Linked DNA regions of Homo sapiens: region 1 is linked to region 2. The links are contacts of gene promoters, found by promoter capture Hi-C in human tissues and cell types (Jung and others, 2019). All regions are on one chromosome and are shown on one strand. The core of a region is centred on a gene start or on the middle of the fragment in contact, and the rest is flanking DNA. Distances in the headings are between cores, read along the strand shown.

Region 1 (3,153 bases), core at 424-2,923, 130 kb after region 2:
CCGCCCCGCCCCCGGCCCAGGAGCTAACCTAGGAGCTCGGGAGGGCAGGGGCGGGGCAGGGCAAGAGCTTCTGTTTTGTAAACCACTGAAGGGGCCCTTATTTGGAGTGACAACACTTTACAGCTGGCCCGACTGGCTCCCTGCAGCAGGTGTGCCTTGGGGAGAAGGAGGTTCACCAGCAAACCTTCTCCAGGACGGTGGGGAGGAGCCGGCAGGTGGGGGGCTGCTCTCAACGAGGACTCAGCGTGGCTCCCACCAGGACTCTAAGGAAGGGGGCGGGGGAGGCTGCCGAGATAGCTGCTTGGGACAACAAGCAAAGGCTCCCTCAGGTGTCAACCGCCCCACCCTCAGCTGAGCGGAACCCTGAGGAGAGGAAAGACTGTCTTTTTCCCACAGGGTGCATTCCAGCCAAGAGGAGTACGGGGTTTCCCGGAACAGGAAGGCAGGAGAATGGCCCTGAAGGGAATGTGGGGATAGGGGACACGGAGGAGTCTTCGGGGGGATGGGGGGGTGTACAGGGCCTGCATGGAGGGTACAGGGCCTGCATGGAGTGTACAGGGCTCTGCCTGGAGGGAAGGGTCAACGCGGGGCCCTGAGCAGTGAGGGGTGAGTGTGCCCTGTGGGTTACAGCCCAAAGGTCTGGCCCTGAAGGGGTAGCGAGGGGTGGGTACTCCGGTGGGGTAAGGTCAGAAGGTCCCTGTGCAGGGAGGGACTGGTCCCTTGAGAAGGAACAGAGGGCAAATCCTGAAGAGTCCTGGAGGCCCAATGTAGACAGCAGAAGCTGGGAGCTGACCTAGGAGTGATCGGGGGCCTGATCCAGACAGGACAGACACAGGCTGACACCGGAGAGTCCCAGGTGCCAACATGAACAGTTAAGGCAGGGGCTGACCCCAAAGAAATCAGGGGCCCGCAGCTGACCCCGGAGGGTCCCAGGTGCCGACCTAGACAGCAAAGGCAGGGCTGACCCCAGAGGGTCCCGAGCCGACCCAGACGACACAGGCAGGGCTGATCCCGGAGGGCCCCGCCCCGACCCGGACAGGCAGTGAAGGCACAGGCAGGGCTGACACTCGAGGGTCCCGCGACCCGGACAGGCAGGGAAGGCACAGGCAGGGCTGACCCCGGAGGGTCTCGCGACCCGGACGGCACAGGCAGGGCTGACCCCGGAGGGTCCCGGCCCGACCCGGACAGGCAGGGCAGGCACAGGCAGGGCAGGGCCCGCAGCCGGCAGGCCCGGGGGCCGCACTCACCGAGCAGCAGCAGCTTGAGCTCGCGCCGGGCGTCGCGCTTGTCCCGCCGCAGCTGCTTCTCGATCTCGGCGTTGATCCGCTTGGACTCCTTCACCTCATCGCTCAGGCAACACGCCATCATGGACTCCAGAGTCATCGTCCCGGCCCCGGCCGACGCGGCCGCCTGCCCGCCGCCGCCCCCCGGCCCCCGGCCCGGCCCTGGCCGGAGCCGCCTCGGCCGCCGCCCGCCGCGGCCCTCCGGCCTCGGCCACCGGCCCTCGGCCCCGGGCCGGCCCGCCCCGCCTCGGCCGCCGCCTGGCGAGCCGCCGGGTCCCCGCTCGGGCCGCGCCAGCCGCGGACTCCCGCGCGGCCGCACTCAGCCCGCGCCGCCGCCGCAGCCACCGCCAACCGCAGCCGCCGCAACCGAGCGACAGCGCCGGACAACCTAGCAGGCTGGGAGCGCAGCCCGCGACGGGCAGACGGTGCGGCCAATGGGAGGGGCCGGCGGCCAAGCGCGCCCACCATGGGGGCGGGACTAGCGGCCTGGGCGGGGCGTCGGCGGGCGCGAAAGGGGCGGGGCGGGGCGAGGGCGGGGGGCCCGCGGGTTTGGTTGCGCCGACGTGGGAAGGGGGACGCGCAGCCGGGAGCCGGGGCGGGGCCGCCCGGGATTGTGGGAATGTGGCGGACTCGGCCCGGCCAGGCTCGGCTCCGCTCGGCTCCGTTCGGCCCCGCTCGGTCCCGCTCGGCTCGGCCCAGGCGCGGTGGCGGAGGCGCGCACGCGGCCGCTGCGCTCTCTGGGTCTCCAGGTGCCTGGGCAGCAGTCGCTGCCCCCGGGAAGCGCCCTGACATTGCCTGACAGGAACCTTCACTCATCCATTAAAAAGCGTTAATGGAGGTCGGGCGCGGTGGCTCACGCCTGTAATCCCAGCACTTTGGAAGGCCGAGGCGGGCGGATCACCTGAGGTCTGGAGTTCGAGACCAGCCTGACCAACAGGGAGAAACGCCGTCTCTACTAAAACTACAAAATTAGCCCGGCGTGGTGGTGCACGCCCGTAATCCCAGCTACTCGGGAGGCTGAGGCAGGAGAATCACTTGAACCCAGGAGGCGGAGGTTGCAGTGAGCCGAGATCACGCCATTGCACTCCAGCCTGGGCAACAAGAACGAAACTCCGTCTCCAAAGAAAAAAAAAAAAAAAGAGGGCCGGGCGCGGTGGCTCACGCCTGTAATCCCAGCACTTTGGGAGGCCGAGGCGGGTGGATCACGAGGTCAGGAGATCGAGACTATCCTGGCTGACACGGTGAAACCCCGTCTCTACTAAAAATACAAAAAATTAGCCGGGCGTGGTGGCGGGCGCCTGTAGTCCCAGCTACTCGGGAGGCTGAGGCAGGAGAATGGCGTGAACCCGGGAGACGGAACTTGCAGTGAGCTGAGATCATGCCACTGCACTCCAGCCTGGGCGACAGAGCGAGACTCTGTCTCAAAAAAAAAAATTAAAAAGCGTTAATGGGACACCTACTGTGTATCAGGCATTAATGGGACACATTCTATATGCCAGGCACGGACCAGAGATTAATGGAGTGCCTGCTGTCCATCAGGTGTCAATCAGGCCTTACTGCAGTGCCTGCACCATTCCAGGCCAGGTATACGCATTCATGAAATGCCTACAGGATACCAGGCACTGCTGTAAGCCCGTTAAGCTAACCCTACCCAAGGGATATCTTTTTTTTCTTCTTCTTTTTTTGAGATGGAGTCTTGCTCTGTCGCCCAGGCTGGAGTGCAGGGGCGTGATCTAGGTTCATTGCACCCTCTGCCTCACAGGCTCTAGTGATTCTCCTGCCTCACCCTCCCAAGTAGCTGGGATTACAGGCGCGCCACCATGCCTGGCTAATTTTGTATTTTTAGTAGAGAGCGGGTTTCGCCACGTTG
Region 2 (2,933 bases), core at 360-2,859:
CAATTCATTCATTCAATAAACATGCATTCATGCTTACCGGGCACGCAGCGCTGGGGAAAAAGTGGGTGTAAAATAGGTCATGGGCCCCGGTCCTTCCCCAAGGCCTCTCCAGGGTCTTCCTGGAGGATGGGAGGGGGAGGGCCGGGGGTGTCCAGCACAAGGCCTTTGAAGTGGCACCCCCAGTCCCCAACACCTGACCGGAAGGCTGTCAAAGCCACCCCAATTCAGACGCTGGGCCCATGATGGGAACCAAGGGCTGGGGATACAATTGCCGGACACCCCCACCCGGGATGCCATCGGAGGGAGAATCCAGTGGGAGGGAGGCAGACAGGCCTGAGGCCGCCCACGCCTCCCTCCTCCTCCCTGTCCACCCCAGAATTTGGGCTCTGCCCAGATGGACACGTCCAAGCTCATTGTCTTGGGCCTGAGACCCCAACACATTGCTAAGAGGCTCGGCCAGTTTCAACTTGAGCCCAAGGTGGAGGCGGGGGAGGGGGAGGGCAGAGAAATGGAGGAGAGAATGCTGATCCACGCGGAGGTGGTGGGGCCAGGGGGTGGGCAGCGACGGGAGCCTCTCCGCCACCCGAGGCAGGCGAGGCGGGCGCGTCCCCCCGAGCCGGGCGCCCCCAACCCGTCTTCCTTTGTAGTTACCGATTAGCCTGGGGTCCTGGGCATCCGTGTCCCCCGCGGCCGGACCTGCCCCGCCGGCCTGGCTTTGTGAAAATAACCAAAGCAATGGAGTCCGCAGGTGCAAACTTCCCCGACGGGGCCTGGGGAGGCTGAATGAATGGGGGTGGGGGGGCAGGGAGGGGTGCCGGCGTTCCCGAGGCTCCCCTGGCAAACGGGCAGGAAAGAGTGGGGTGAGGGAGGGAGGAAGGGGTGGGGGTCTGGGGGATGGAAGGGTGAGGGAGGGAGGGAGGGAGAGAGAGGGTGCTGTGGGGGGAAGGATGAGAGGTCGAGGGAGATGGGAGAGAAGAGAAAGGGAGAGAGAGAGGGAGAGAGAGAGGGAGAGAGAGAGGAGATGCCGGAAGGTGGGGAGGGAGGGAGAGGGGGCGGAGGAGGGGAGGGGGCCCGCTCGGATCTGTCAGCTGCACCCCCAGAGAGGGGAGGAGGGGTGGGTGGGAGGGAGGGGGTAAGAACCGATGCTCCGGCAGAGGCAGGCAGAGGAGGGAGGTGAGCAGAGGAGGGATGGTGATGGGGGAGAGAAGATGCCGGAAGGTGGGGTGGGAGGCGGAGGGAGGGGGAGAGGGGGGAGGGGGCCGGGCGCCCACCTTTGTGCATCCCCGTGTAGGGGTCTTTGAGCACCGTGAGCTCGTAGATGCGGCCGAACTGCTCGAAGAGCGGCTTGAGGTCCTTCTCGTCCAGGTGCCGCGGGATCTGGCCCACGAAGAGTTTGATGGCGTCCAGGTCCTTCATGCCGTCGGGCTGCCCCCCGGGGGGCTCGGGCCCGCTGCTGCCCACGGGCGAGGGCCGCGGCTGCAGGAGCTGCTGCTGCTGCCGGCGCGCCTCGCTCTCCGTCAGGCGGGCCATGGCGGGCGCGGGACCGAGCCGGCGGCGGCGGCGGCGGGCGGCGGGCGGACTCGCAGCTGGAGCGGCGGCCGCGCCTCCCGCCTCCCTCCCGGGCCCCCGCGCCCTCCTCCCGCCCGCGCCCGCCCCGGCATCGGGACCACAAAGGCGGCTCCGCAGCGGCCCCTGGCGGCCGCGCCGCGCGGGGCAGCCGGCGCCTCCCCGCATCCCCGGGCCGCGGGGGGAAACTGAGGCCGGAAGGCCCCGGGCCCCGCCTACGGGTGGGCGAGGGCGGAGCTGCGGGCGGGACGGGCCTTAGCCGGCTTCCCAGGGGTCCCCGCCGGCTCCCGCGGAGGGCATCGGCCGGAAGAATGTCAAAAGTTGCTGGGATAATGTAGGGGGCTTGTCGTTGAAAGCGCCCGTGATCCTTAAAGTAGGTAACTCATCAATAATATTAATAACACTAATAATATGGCTGGGCGCGGTGGCTCACGCCTGTCATCTCAGCACTTTGGGAGGCCGAGGTGGGTGGATCACTTGAGGTCAGGAGTTCGAGACCAGACTGGCTAACACGGTGAAACCCCGTCTCTACTAAAGAATACAAAAATTAGCTGGGCTCGGTGGCGGGGGGTGCCTGTAATCCCAGCTACTCGGGAGGCTGAGGCAGGATAATCACTTGAACCCAGGAGGCGGAGGTTGCAGTGAGCCAAGATTGTGCCATTGTACTCCAGCCTGGGCAACAAGAGCAAAACTCCGTCTTGGTAAAAAAAAAAAAAAAAAACACCTAATAATAACAACACTAATAATAATTAATCAAGAGCAAGACAAAGTGCTCCCACTAATCACGACAGCACAGGAGAAATGGTAAAAGTATCTTCCAGTTCTATAGGGTGCTTACACATAGAAAGTGTCCTTGGCCCTTTAAGTATGTAACTCATCAATAATGTCATCAACAAGGAGGGAGACTGGCTCGCACTGATAATGACAGGATAGGAGAAATACTGAAGTATCTCCCAGCTCTAAAGTGCCCGTGATCCTTTACGTATGAAACTCATCAATAATATTAATAAAAATAATAATACGTGCTGGCCGTGGTGGCTCACACCTGTAATCCCAGCACTTTGAGAAGCAGAGTCAGGAGGACCACTTGAGCCCAGGAGTTGGAGACCAGCCTGAGCAACATAGTGAGACGCCATTGCTGTAAAAAATAAGAAAACAGGCCAGGCACGATGGCTCACACCTGTAATCCCAGCACTTTGGGAGGCTGAGGCAGGTGGATCACCTGAGATCAGGAGTTCGAGACCAGCCTGATCAACATGGAGAAAACTCTGTCTCTACTAAAAACACAAAAATTAGCCAGGCATGGTTGTGCATGCCTGTAATCCCAGCTACTCAGGAGGCTGAGGCAGGAAAATCGCTTGAACCCG

The links. The method cuts DNA at HindIII sites, captures the fragments that hold promoters and counts their contacts. A contact is called where the count stands out against the background at its distance.
Region 1: the fragment with the promoter of GNA11 here is called in contact with the fragment with the promoter of CELF5 in region 2 in 2 of the 25 tissues and cell types used here (pancreas and spleen).

Annotation. Positions count from the first base shown.
Region 1 is chr19:3,092,882-3,096,034 of GRCh38, reverse strand. GNA11 (G protein subunit alpha 11) reads right to left here and starts at 1,673. Exons shown (of 7, transcript NM_002067.5): 1 at 1,248-1,673. The coding sequence starts at 1,383. RefSeq lists silencers at 1-10, 1,165-1,294, 1,615-1,734, 1,755-2,004 and enhancers at 1-880, 881-1,868. The HindIII fragment of the contact is 21,058 bases long and covers 1-3,153 here.
Region 2 is chr19:3,223,337-3,226,269 of GRCh38, reverse strand. CELF5 (CUGBP Elav-like family member 5) reads right to left here and starts at 1,609. Exons shown (of 13, transcript NM_021938.4): 1 at 1,272-1,609. The coding sequence starts at 1,530. RefSeq lists a silencer at 1,669-1,788. The HindIII fragment of the contact is 19,492 bases long and covers 1-2,933 here.